Regions from separate parts of the Homo sapiens genome. Here region 1 is linked to region 2. Evidence: promoter capture Hi-C in 16 types of primary human blood cells and fetal thymus (Javierre and others, 2016). All regions are on one chromosome and are shown on one strand. Each heading gives the region's core, a stretch centred on a gene start or on the middle of the fragment in contact. The rest is flanking DNA. Distances are from core to core; before and after follow the strand shown. Region 1 overlaps THAP4 (THAP domain containing 4). Region 2 holds the start of AGXT (alanine--glyoxylate aminotransferase).

Region 1 (6,335 bases), core at 1-2,500, 720 kb after region 2:
ACGAAAGCTGTATTAGAGTTACAAACTAAAACTTACATGATGATGTTAAGATCACAGCTAGCCTCTTGGGAATGCTCCATCTGTAGGAAAATATAGACTCGGCTCTTTAAAAGTAATGAGAAAATGACTGCCATCTTTTTTTTTTGGAGACAGGGTCTTGCTCTGTCACCCAAGTTGGAGTGCAGTGGTGTGATCTTGGTTCACTGCAACCTCCACCACCCGGGCTCCAGGGATCCTCCCACCTCAGCCTTCTGAGTAGGTGGGACCACAGGCATGGACCACCATACTCGGCTAATATTTCTATTTTTTTTTGTAGGGATGGGGTTTTGCCACGTTGCCCAGGCTGGTCCCAAACTCCTGGCTTCAAGCCATTTCCTCGCCTTGGCCTCCCAAAGTGCTGGGATTATAGGCGTGAGCCACTGCGCCCGGCCAACTCTATAGAAGATTTACAAATATTTTAGATCTTGTCAAAACTGTAAGAAGAAAGAAAAGGAAAGAGATTCATCCCTTCTTAATTTTTTTTTTTTTTTTTTTCCAGACAGAGTCTTGCTCTTGTCTCCCAGGCTGGAGTGCAGTGGTGCGATCTTGGCTCACTGCAACCTCCAACTCCTGGGTTCAAGCGATTCTCCTGCCTTAGCCTCCCAAGTAGCCAGGATTATAGGCATGCGCCACCACACCTGGCTAATTTTTTGTATTTTAAGTAGAGACGGGGTTTCTCCATGTTGGTCAGGCTGGTCTCGAACTCCTGACCTTAGGTGATCCGCCAGCCTTGGTCTCCCATAGTACTGGGATTACAGGCGTGAGCCACCACACCCAGCCCCCTTCTTAATTTCTTAGGGAACGCTTTGGAAAACAAACATCAGCAGATAAAAAAAAAATGTACAGCCTACGCAAGTGATAATATTCAAAATCCTCAGCCATAAAAATAAAGGCCTTTTATTTGGTTTTTCTATGCCAGTACAGAAACATCTGGACAACACTCTTGAGCCTGCAGAGGCTCACGGCCACACCCACTTCTGCCGCAGGGACTGTCTGTTGAGGAGCCGAACCGTTGAGGCACAGTAGCCAGGCCCTCCCGAGGGCTCCAGAAGCTCTAGGTTTACGGGGTCACCTTCTTGTAGGTGACGTGAAGATGCTGAGTCATTGGCTGTGTCGTGGTTGCCATGGAGACCGTCTGCTCAAGTTTGCCTTCAGAATTCAGCCTGAACTTCCGGGTGATCTGAGCAGGAGAATGGAACAAAGATAGCTTAGTTTTATCTTCAAAAGATTCAATCAATGCCTGTGCGCCCACTGCATGCCACACACTCATCACGGGCTGTGAGCCAGGCAGTGGCCCTGCCAGAGGAGGGTAGACACACAGCCCAGGGCCCCTGGGCATGTCACAATCCAGGTGCCCTTCAGCTGCCTCCAGAAGACCACCAGGGGAACACAGGGATTGTTTATTTAGAAGTCACCTTTTTTGTCGACGGCCATACCACCCTGAACGCACCTGATCTCGTCTGACCTCGGAAGCTAAGGAGGGTCGGGCCTGGTTAGTACTTGGATGGGAGAAGTCACCTTTTTTTGGTCTCTACAAATCATATACCTGATCAGACAAGCGCTGAGCTTCCAGTGCTTCCCTTCTCCACTGCCTCCCACTTTCACTGTAACTAGAACTGATGTCCAGTGTGTTCTTGGAAAGCTCAGAAATACCATCTTTGGAACAGTAATTCATCAGAATAAATTATAGCAGCTGTTTCCAACAAGAATCCAAGCCTATGGCAGCTAAGTCCCGAATGAGTCAGCCCTATATGCCCAGAATGTTTGCCGGCAAATTGTGAGAGTGACCACTGTCAAAAGACAATTCTCTGATGGGCACTATCTCTCTAGTGCCCCAGATGTGTGGGGGGTCATGTGGGGTGGGGGGCACCAGAAGTGGATGAAACGGAGTTCTGCTTATGGCCATGGCTGACTACTCTGTAACTGACCAACCCTCCTGCAGATAACAACCCAGGTTTTAAGAAGTTTCTTTAAAGGTGTCAGAGAACCACCAAGTCAGCGAGGACCAGCACCCCAAAGAGAAGGAAGTGTGGAGGTGAGACCCAATTTGGAGCAACTGGCCCCGATGCTTTTGCTGCCCGGAAGTCAAGGGGTTCAAGGGGTGGAGGCTGAGAGGGATGTGGTAGCTAAGAGGCTGAGAAGCTAAGTGGGGCCTTCTCAGACTCATGGAGCTGGAGGGACAAACACTGGAATTCAGTGTCCATCTAGGAGGAGAGGCGCAGCCGGGCATGGTGGTATGCACATGTAGTCCCAGCTACTCGGGAAGTTGAGGCAGCAGAATTGCTTGAACCCAAGAGGTGGAGGTTGCAGTGAGCCGAGATCATGCCACTGCACTTCAGCCTGGGTGACAGAGCAAGACTCCTTCTCAAAAAAAAAAAAAAAAAGAAAAAAAAAAGAAAAAGAAAAAGAAAGAAAAAAAGCACCCTGAGGTTGGGCACGGTGGTTCACGCCTGTAATCCCAGCACTTTGGGAGGCCGAGGCGGGCGGATCACGAGGTAAGGAGATCGAGACCATCCTGGCTAACAGGGTGAAACCCCGTCTCTACTAAAAATACAAAAAAAATTAGCCGGGTGTGGTGGCGGGTGCCTGTAGTCCCAGCTACTCAGGAGGCTGAGGCAGGAGAATGGCGTGAACCCAGGAGGCGGAGCTTGCAGTGAGCCAAGATCGCGCCACTGCACTCCAGCCTGAGCAACAGAGCGAGACTCCATCTGAAGAGGAAAAAAAAAAAAAAAAAAAAAAGCACCCCAGCTTTGGGTGGGGTCCCTGAAGGGTCCCATCCCAGGAGTAAGAGTTAACCAGAAACAGGCTGGGAAGTCCGGTTTCAAACCAGCTCAGCCTCTACTGAACACGAGCTGTCCATCCTTGACCAACAGGCAGAAGCACAGAACTGCTCTTTGGTGAGGATAACATCAAAGGAAGCCTCAAGTCATCTCTACAATTTTTCACACATATTGTCTAGAATCCAAGAAAAAAAGAAAAACTCCTTAGGTTACTAGGAGATAAGATCAAAAGAAAAAACAGGAAATAGACACCTCCCCCACCCTCACCCAGGGGATACCAATACTGGAGTTATTAGAAGACAATATGGAGAATTTCTGCAGGTAATCAGAATTTATCAAAAAGATTAAAATATAAATTCTACAACTGAAAAACATAATAACTCAAATTAAGGCCCCAATAATGAAATAGACAAATTAGACACAGATGAAGAAAGGATTAGTAAAATGGAAAATGATCAGTAGGAAATATCCACATTGAAGCTTAGAGAATAATGGAAAATATGGATGAAAGCATAAGGGACACATTGAAAATTGCAAAAGACTGAACACATGTGTAACCAGAGACCCAGAAGAAGATAGGAAAGACAACAGAACACAAGCAATATTTGAAAAGATCATGGCCAATTTTCTGAGCCTAACAAAATATATCAAGCCACAAATTCTAATTATATCACAGCAAAACTTTGGCTGATAATCAAAGGCAAGAAAATAGAAACTTGAAAGCAGCCAGAGGTGGGTGTGGGTGTCATGGTTAATTTTAGGTGTCAAAGGTCAAAGGTGACCGATTAAGGAACACCTAGAAACCCGGTAAAGGATTATTTTGAGTATGTCTGAGAAGATGTTTCCAGAGGTGACTGACCAGGTGAGGAAGATCTACCCTCCATGAGGGTGGGCACCATCTAATAGGCTGGGGGCCCAGATAAAATAAAAACAAAGATAAGGCGAATATGTCCATCTGTTTGCTGGAGCTGGGATACACTCTTCCTCCCCCGTCCTTGGACACCTCCAGGCCCCCCGACCTTTGGACTCCCAGATGTCACCAGCACCTCCTCTCTCCTCAGGGCTCTGAGACCTTTGGCCCAGGACCAAGAGTGACACCACTGACTTCCCTGGTTCTGAAGCCTTTGGACTTGGACTGAGCCATGACACTGGCATCCCAGGGTTTCCAGCTTGTGGAGGGGACTTTTATAACTATTGAATGCTACATTCGTTAAGTGTACATGAAATATTCATGAAGTTAGGCCATATACTGGGGCGTAAAATAAGTCTCCAACATTTTTTAACAGACTAAAATATTAGAGGGTATGTTGTCTGGGCCTTATAGAATTGAATGAAAAATCCTGAGCAATAGAATCTATTTAAAAAATTCTCAATTATTTGGAAAATAAGTAACATATCTCTAAATAACCCTGTTCAAAGAAAAAAAAAATCACTACAAAATTAGCCGGGTGTGGTGGCACATGCCTTTAATCCCAGCTACTCGGGAGGCTGAGACAGGAGAATCACTTGAACTGGCGAGGTGGGGGTTGCAGTGAGCCAAGATTGCGCCACTGCACTCCAGCCTGGGCAACAAGAGAGAAACTCCATCTCAAAAAAAAAGAAAAAAATCACTAGAGAATAGCCACTCTACTCCAGCCTGGGCAACACAGAATACCTTGTTTTTATTGAAAGAAAAAAGTAAAAAGGAGAGAAAAGAAGGAAGGAAGGAAGGGAGGGAGGGAGGGAGGGAAGGAAAAGAAGAAAAATAAAGAAACAAACTACAGAAATGAATGAATTTAACAAAGTCACATGATACGAGATCAATATACAACAGCTAATTGTACTTCTATATACTTGCAACAAATAAGTGGAAAATTAAAAAATCATTTATAATAGCATCCCAAACCACAAAATATGTAGGAATAAATTTAACAAAATGTGTGCAAAACCAATACGTTGAAAACTACAAGAAAATATAGGATGAGACTGATCTAAATAAATGGAGCACCTTACCATGGCACTGGATTGGAGGACTCAGTTTGCCTAAGATGGCACTTCTTCCCAAATTAATTTAGAAATTCAAGTAGTTCCAATGAAAATGTTTCTAGAAACTGACAAGCTGATTCTGAAATTCATAAGGAAATGCAAAGGGTCCTAGGATAGCCAAAACAATTTTGGAAAAAAGAAAAAGAAGAAAAGTTGGGTAACTTCTATCACCTGATTCAATATAAAGCTACAATGATCAAGACAGCATGGTAACAGTATAAAGACCGAAACAGAGAAGAGTGGGACAGAAGAGAGAGTCCTGGGGAAGAACCACACACACAAAGTGAGTTGATTTTCGACAAAAGCACTGCATACTTTAATAAATTAAGGGTTCTCTTTTCAACAAATGGTGCTGGAAACGAGGTATCTGTATGAGGAAAAATGGAAAAAACGTGACTACTACCTCATACCATCTAGAAATAGCAATTCCAAATAGCATATATCTTAAAACTATAAAACTTCTTGAAGAAAATGCAGGTGAAAATCTTTGCTGCCTGGGCTAGGTGAAAAATTTTAAGACAGGACACAAAAAGCACTGACTAGAGAAAAAAAATGGTAACAGAATTAAAACATTTGGTTCTAGACTGCGCATGGTGGCTCACGCCTGTCATCTCAGCGCTTTGGGAGACCAACGAGGGTGGATCACCTGACGTCAGGTCGAGACCGGCCTGGCCAACATGGTGAAACCCCGTCTTTACTAAAAATACAAAAAATTAGCCGGCCATGGTGGTGGGAGCCTGTAATCCGAGCTACTTGGGAGGCTGAGAGAGGATAATCGCTTGAATCTGGGAGGTAGAGGTTGCAGTGAGCTGAGATCAGGCCATTGCATTCCAGCCTGGGCAACGAGAGCAAACAATGTCTCAAAAAAAAAAAAGAAAAAGAAAAGAAACCCCCCACCCCCACCAAAAAAAACAACATTTGGTTCTTCAAATGGTACTGTCTAGGAAACAGAAAGGCAAGGCACAGGATAGGAATATCGTGTTGGCAAGTACACCTGATAAAGGACTTATACCCAGAACAAACAACAGGCTCTTACAACTCAGGAATAACACAAACACTTAAACAAATGGGCAAAAAATCTGAATGTTCATTTCACAAAACAAGAAATACAAGTGGCAAATAAGTACAACAAAAAGATGAGCAGCATCGTTACTCAGCAGGGAAGTGCAAATTAACATCACAATAAAATACCACCCTGTAGTGGCCAGGATAAAACTCAAAGGCCAACCCTTGGCGAGGCTGTGGGACAACCTTGCTGGGGTGTCAAGGGGGACAGCCACTCTGGAAGAGATTGGTGCTTACCACAGAACCCAGCAGTTCCAATCCCAGGTATGCACCCAAGAGGAAAAAAAACATGTGTCCACACAAAGTTAGGTCTACACATGCTTACAGCTTTATTCCTAATAGCCCGGAACTGGAAACAAATAAAATAAACATCCATCAACAGAAAGGATAAACAAAACTGACAAGCTCACTGGTGGACCACCACAC
Region 2 (6,470 bases), core at 3,690-6,189:
GGCAAGCTGACTCTGCCCACATGCCCTCTCATAAGGGATTCAGATACCTTTTAGTCTTTATAGACACTTTCACAAGCTGGACTAAAGCCTTCCCACTCGAACAGAAAGAGCATCAGAAGTAACTACGGCTCTTTTAGAACACATTATTCCTCGATTTGGGGTCCCTCAATCCCTCCAATCAGACAATGGCCTGGCCTTTATTTCTTCTATTACTCCAGGAATCAGTGAGGCCCTCCAAATAAAATATCACTTACATGCTGCTTACCACCCACAGTCATCCAAGGGCCAAGCTAGCTTTGAAAACCCTTCTCACTAAGCTCTCTATAGAAACTCAACTGTTTTGGATAACTTTTCTTCCTATTGCCCTGTTAAGATCTAGAGTAATTCCCAAAGGTTTCAACCCACCTTAGCCCTTTTGAAATTATTTATGGATGCCCCTTTTTACAAACGGACTTATTACTTGATCCAGAGGCTCATTATCTGTCTCAATGTGATGCCTCCCTGGGCAAACTATCCAGGCCACTACTGAATACCAGGATAAATTTTGTCCAAAATCTGACCCCTCCTCATCAGAACTAAGACCTCCTGTTAACCTGGGGACTGGGTATATTTAAAAACTTTGCCTCCAGACAGAAAACCCCTTCCAGCCCTCTGGACTGGACCCTTTCAAGTCCTCATAGCCTCTCCCACAGCTGTTAACTGCAGGGATTCTCCCCTTGGGTCCACCTTTGCCACATAAAGTCTGTACTGCCGCCAGAACTCCAGCCTGCTTACACTTTGAGCCCTTGGAAGATCTATGATTTTTGTTTTGCAAACAACCAGGTGACACTAACCTCTCTTCAAAAGCAAAGGATACCACGTAAGCCTTTTGCTGTGTTTATCATTCACTTTCCTTTCCCTCCCTTGTCATTCATTTCCTTATGTACTCTAGAAGCGTTTTTAGGTCCTCCAATTTTCTGAGATTATCCTCAATTCACTTACTTTTTTTTTTTTTTTTTTTTTGAGACAGAGTTTTGCTCTTGTCACCCAGGCTATAGTGCAATGGTGCGATCTCGGCTCACTGCAACCGCCATCTCCCGGGTTCAAGTGATTCTCCCGCCTCAACCTCCTGAGTAGCTGGGATTACAGGCATGCACCACCATGCCCGGCTATTTTTTTTTTTTTTTTTTTTTTTTTGTATTTTTAGTAGAGACAGGGTTTCACCATGTTGGCCAGGCTGTTCTCACACTTCTGACCTCAGGTGATCCGCCCGTCTCAGCCTCCCAAAGTGCTGGAATTACAGGCATGAGCCACCACACCCAGCCAATTTACTGTCTCTTTATCCAATCCCCATTTCTCAAGACCCACATACAATTATTCAGCTTGCACTAGATTTTTATTTGCAGGGTGGTTTTTCTAATTATACTTGGAGCAACTTTTGTAACAGTCCTTGAATTAGAACAATGAGACTCCTTTTTTCTTTCTTTCATGTTTTTCTCTTTATCTCTCATATAAAAACTTCCCAATCCTCTTGGTTTGACAATATCATCTTCAGCATCTCACATGCTATTGTGAGAGGAGAAAATACTCTGTGTGGCTGGCTTTGCCGTCCACAACCTGCTACTCCAAGCCATGTAGATTCTTCTTCGTAAGCACACCCTGTCTCCAATCAAACTGTACTGTTGGGATTTCATTATTCTTCTCACCACTCCTTCCCACCCCGACCATTTCCTTCTGTGCTGGTAAATTGGAAACCACCTCCCTCTTCGTGCTATCATATTACTTCCCCCACCATCCACACTTACAATATCACTGAAACTTCCTTAACTTGTAATGTTATTTTGGGAGGTACACCTTGTTATAATGACACTCATGCAGCTAACTTTGACTCATTTGAGGCCTTCGCCTCCTACAATCAAAACTCTGACTCTGGCCAGGTGCGCTGGCTCACACCTGTAATCCTAACACTTTGGGAGGTAGAGGTGGGTGGATCACCTGAGGTCAGGAGTTCGAGACCAGTCTGACCAACATGGTGAAACCCTGTCTCTACTAAAAATACAAAAATTAGCAGGGCGTGGTGGCAGGTGCCTGTAATCCCAGCTACTCAGGAGGCTGAGGCAGGAGAATCGCTTGAACCCAGGAGCAGAGGTTGCAGTGAGCCAAGGTCACACCACTTCACTCCAGCCTGGGCAACTGAGTGAGACTCCATCTCAAAAAAAAAAAAAAAAAAAATCTGACTCTATCTCATCACTGCCAATTTATAAGCCGTTAAACTGGACCAGTATAGTGGGGCTCCCAGTATACAGCACCCCTGCACTCCTAATACCTTCATGTATGTTACTATAATGATGCAACCAGTGCAGGAAATAACCACCGTGCCACCTGGTTTACATCCTATGCCATGCACTGGCACCCGCCTGCTTTTAAACCTCCTCCATCAGTACATAAACATAGTCTTTCCCCCATATGAGTCCTCTTAAAACTGTCAAAAGGCCCATTTCCTTTTTTCCCAACATTTTAATTAAAATAATCATCCTGCCCCTCCTGGGCTCTTATGGCTTAGCAGCCCCACTAAAAACTATTTAAACCCTTTTCAAGCTTTGGCCCTATCCCACCTTGATCATTCTCTTCACTATGGTGATTGTAGCCTGGGAACAATAGCTCCCACCCAAATCACTGTCTTAAACATCACTTCTAATTCAGAATTCCCTTCTAGAAGGAAAAGGGCCCTGGGACTTACTGTGGCCGGAGTTGTGGGAACTATCACAACTCTTACCCCTTGGGGAGGTTTTACTTACCAGGAAATCACAAGTAAGAGAACCTACCGCCTCCCTTGAAATAGCAAAAGCTGGCACCCATCTATCAGCTCTACAAGTCATTAGACTCACAAGCAGGATTTTGGTGTCTGGTAACAGGTGAGTTCTGGATTACCTCCTAGCTGAACAAGGAGGGGTCTGTGCTGTCATCAACAGGACCCGTTGCACCTACATTTATGTGTCTGGAGAAGTGGAAACCGATGCCCAAGAAATCATCAAACAAGCCAAATGGCTACACACACTTTCCCAAAGCAACCAAGACTGGGCCAAAACTTTTACTGATTGGTTTTCAAAAAATCACTTGGCTTCCCCCATTCCTTAGACCTTTATCTTCTGTCATTTTTCTTTTAATATTTGGTCCCTGCCTTTTTAATGCTCTGATTGCTTTTCTATGTTCTACATGAGAACAATTCCACCTGCAGAAGGCTATGCATTCCCAACACTGGCCTGCAACTGCAGCTCGATTTACATGGGGCTTCTTGATGGAAATACCGGCCTGCAACTGCAGCTCCCATTTACGTGGGGCTTCTTGATGGAATCCCATCACGTGCCTCCGTGCACAAGTTTTCATGACCCTTTATTCCCTTCATGACCGAGAGCAAGAAAGGGAAAAACGTGACCTACCCCCCTGAACTCCCTTTCAGCAGCAAGTAGTCAGGCGCACTGGACACCCCTCTTCACTGTGCCGTTTCCCCTTTCTTGAGACCCCAACAGGAAGCAGGTGGACATGAGCATGGCAGAAAAGGAAGGGTCAAAGATTTCACCAAGATATTTGTCAGAGGGAAAATGAGGACAGCAAAGATCACCTGGAGACCATCAAGCAGGCCCCAGGTGGGGTGGGTGGAGGGGAGCCTCTTTATTTGAGAAATGTAGAATGAATTAGACTTCCCTATTATCTAAAGTTGGCACCTGGTTCCAGGCCTCTTTTCAACCTAAAACTTATACATAACTAGAATTTCTATACATCTCTGGAATGCAGCATGCTGAAACTCACTGTGCAACCCCTGCCTTGTGTGTGTCTGTATACCATGCAGGTTTGCTTGCTAAATTGAGCCTGTAAACCAAAAAGTACCTCAAACAGGTCTCAATTAATTTAGAAAGTTTTTGTTGCCAAGGCTAAGGATGCACCCGTGGTACAGCCTCAGGAGGGAGGACATCCTTGCCAAGCTCAAGGGTGCACCCCTGACCACAAGGGCCCAAGGTGGTCGGGGCACAGCTTGCTTTTATACATTTTAGGGAGATATGAGGCATCAATCAATACATGGGAGATTTACATTGGTTCCATCTGGAAGGGCGGGACAACTTGAATTGGGGGGCTTCCAGGTCATAGGTAGATTTAAACATATTTTGATTGGCAACTGACTGAAGAATTATTATCAGCAGAAAGGAGTGTCTGGGTTATGAAATAGGGGTTGCAGGGAGCAGATGATGCCTTCAGGTAGCGGGATTTAGAGAGAAAATAGATGGTAAATGCTTCCTATCAGACTTAAGGTCTATGTCGATGTTAATGCTGGGGGTTATGATGTGGCATGGCCTGAACGTCTTCCGGGTTAAAGTTTAGAGCACCCTGGCGGACAGGGAACCCCATTCAGATGGTTGCTGGGGGGCCTTCGAATTTTATTTTTGGTTTACAAGCCTTCCCATCAGCTGCGCCAGGGTCAGCAAACCACAGTCCATGGGCCCAATCTGGCCTGCCACCTGCTTTTTGTAAATAAAGTTTTATAGGAACACGCCCACACCTCTGGCAGCTGCTTTGCAAGCACGCAGCAGGGTTGAGTTGTTGCAACATAGACCACAGGGCCTGCCAAGCCTCAATTATCTGTGCTCCGACCCTTTAAGAAACACTTCTCTCACCCCTGAGCTAAGCAGAATAAGAGGGGCTGGACGTGCAGGACTCAGAGTGGGAGCGAGGAGGGCTGGGGTGAGGACAGCTTTGTCACACTCTGTTTTTCTGTCACTCAGCCCTGGGGGCTCCCTCTGCCTGAGGGCTTCGTCCCCTGCTGCCTGGCCGTGACCCGCAGCACAAGCACAGATAAGCCTCAGGGAACAAAAGGCAGGGCTGCCACGGAAGCCCATCCACCAATCCTCACCTCTCACCTCTGTGTCCGCCCTGCTGGGAAATATTCCAGGCTTTGGCCAAGGCCAGTGCAGCCCCAGGTTCCCGAGCGGCAGGTTGGGTGCGGACCATGGCCTCTCACAAGCTGCTGGTGACCCCCCCCAAGGCCCTGCTCAAGCCCCTCTCCATCCCCAACCAGCTCCTGCTGGGGCCTGGTCCTTCCAACCTGCCTCCTCGCATCATGGCAGCCGGGGGGCTGCAGATGATCGGGTCCATGAGCAAGGATATGTACCAGGTAGGAGTGGGGGTCACTCGGGGGGCCTGGGTCTCACCCATGTTCCCACCCACAGATCGTGGACGAGGGAAGGGGGTCACTGCCTCCTCACTTGGGGAGGCGGGGAGCCTGGGTCTCACCCTATACCACCCGCATGCAGATCATGGACGAGATCAAGGAAGGCATCCAGTACGTGTTCCAGACCAGGAACCCACTCACACTGGTCATCTCTGGCTCGGGACACTGTGCCCTGGAGGCCGCCCTGGTCAATGTGCTGGAGCCTGGGGACTCCTTCCTGGTTGGGGCCAATGGCATTTGGGGGCAGCGAGCCGTGGACATCGGGGAGCGCATAGGTAAGGGAGAGGCCCAGGTGGGGATGGCCCTGGATCCATCCTTCAAGGCCTCCCTGGCCTCCCTCTGTTTGAAGCTGGCAGCCCCCGTTCCTGGGTGAGCGCTTACCCACCTTGTGGCCCTGTGCGCACGAACCTCCTGCCAGCCCACTGCCTCCTCCAGGCGGTGTCGGGCACTCATGAGGCCTGACTCTGATAGGGCTGGGAGCAGCACAGGTGCCCCGATCCCCCCAGTCTCCTTGAGCTGTTTCTGGAGCATGTGCAGGACGGAACTACAGGGAAGCCTCTGGTCCCAGCACACACTCCTGAGAGCCCCGGCCGCTGTCCAGGGCCCCAGGCACCAGCTCTGCTTTGTGACAGGGTGGGGTTTCAGAAGCTGAAGCCTCCCCTCAAATCTCAGCAGCCTTCCTTCTGGAATCTTGATGTGATACACAAAATATGGAGGTATGGGCAGAGTATTCGCCTCCGGAGTACACTTTTCTGGGAGAGACACAGGAGCAGGAGTGTGCCCTGGGTTTAATGATTGATTGTGGCATTGAGGGACATCAGCTTGGTGAGCTCCACAATGGCCATGCTGGTTAATACGCGACCGCAACAGCCAAGAGGGTCCCAACCCCAAGTCCACAAACTTTTCAAGGGGACCCAGGGTCGGCAGAGGCCAGGACCCCAAGTGGACATCAGGGCACGCAGGCTCAGATGCCTGTGGTATATGGCTTCCCTTTTCCCCATTCTGTCCCCTTGGCCGCAGGTTCTTCCCCTCCCACAACCTGGCCCTGAACAGCACACAGGATAGGGCAGAGACAGGGAGGGGGTGAGGGCCTGATTCCTGGAGTCCCCAGCTCCAACAGAGGTCAAGGCTGCTGCCTCACTCACCCCTCATCCTTCAGTCTGTCATCCATCACACCTGTGGTGTGCCAGCCCTGGACCAGGTACACTCTTTGTGCCAGCCCTGGGCCAGGTGCAGCCCTGACTCCCGGGAGCTCACTCTCTGCTTG

What was found. The method cuts DNA at HindIII sites, captures the fragments that hold promoters and counts their contacts. A CHiCAGO score of 5 or more calls a contact.
Region 1: a contact is called between a fragment that was not itself captured here and the fragment with the promoter of AGXT in region 2, in 1 of 17 cell types (naive B cells). The highest score is 5.5, in naive B cells.

What each region holds. Positions count from the first base shown.
Region 1 is chr2:241,583,507-241,589,841 of GRCh38, forward strand. It overlaps THAP4 (THAP domain containing 4), which reads right to left. Exons shown (of 6, transcript NM_015963.6): 6 at 899-1,219. The coding sequence ends at 1,100. It also overlaps the pseudogene RNA5SP122. Among named protein-coding and RNA genes, the nearest start is that of BOK-AS1, 28 kb to the left of the region's middle. RefSeq lists enhancers at 793-1,321, 6,093-6,335. The HindIII fragment of the contact is 4,093 bases long and covers 1-3,297 here.
Region 2 is chr2:240,863,885-240,870,354 of GRCh38, forward strand. It overlaps AGXT (alanine--glyoxylate aminotransferase), which reads left to right and starts at 4,940. Exons shown (of 11, transcript NM_000030.3): 1 at 4,940-5,146; 2 at 5,286-5,478. The coding sequence starts at 4,982. RefSeq lists an enhancer at 4,459-4,959. The HindIII fragment of the contact is 16,005 bases long and covers 2,576-6,470 here.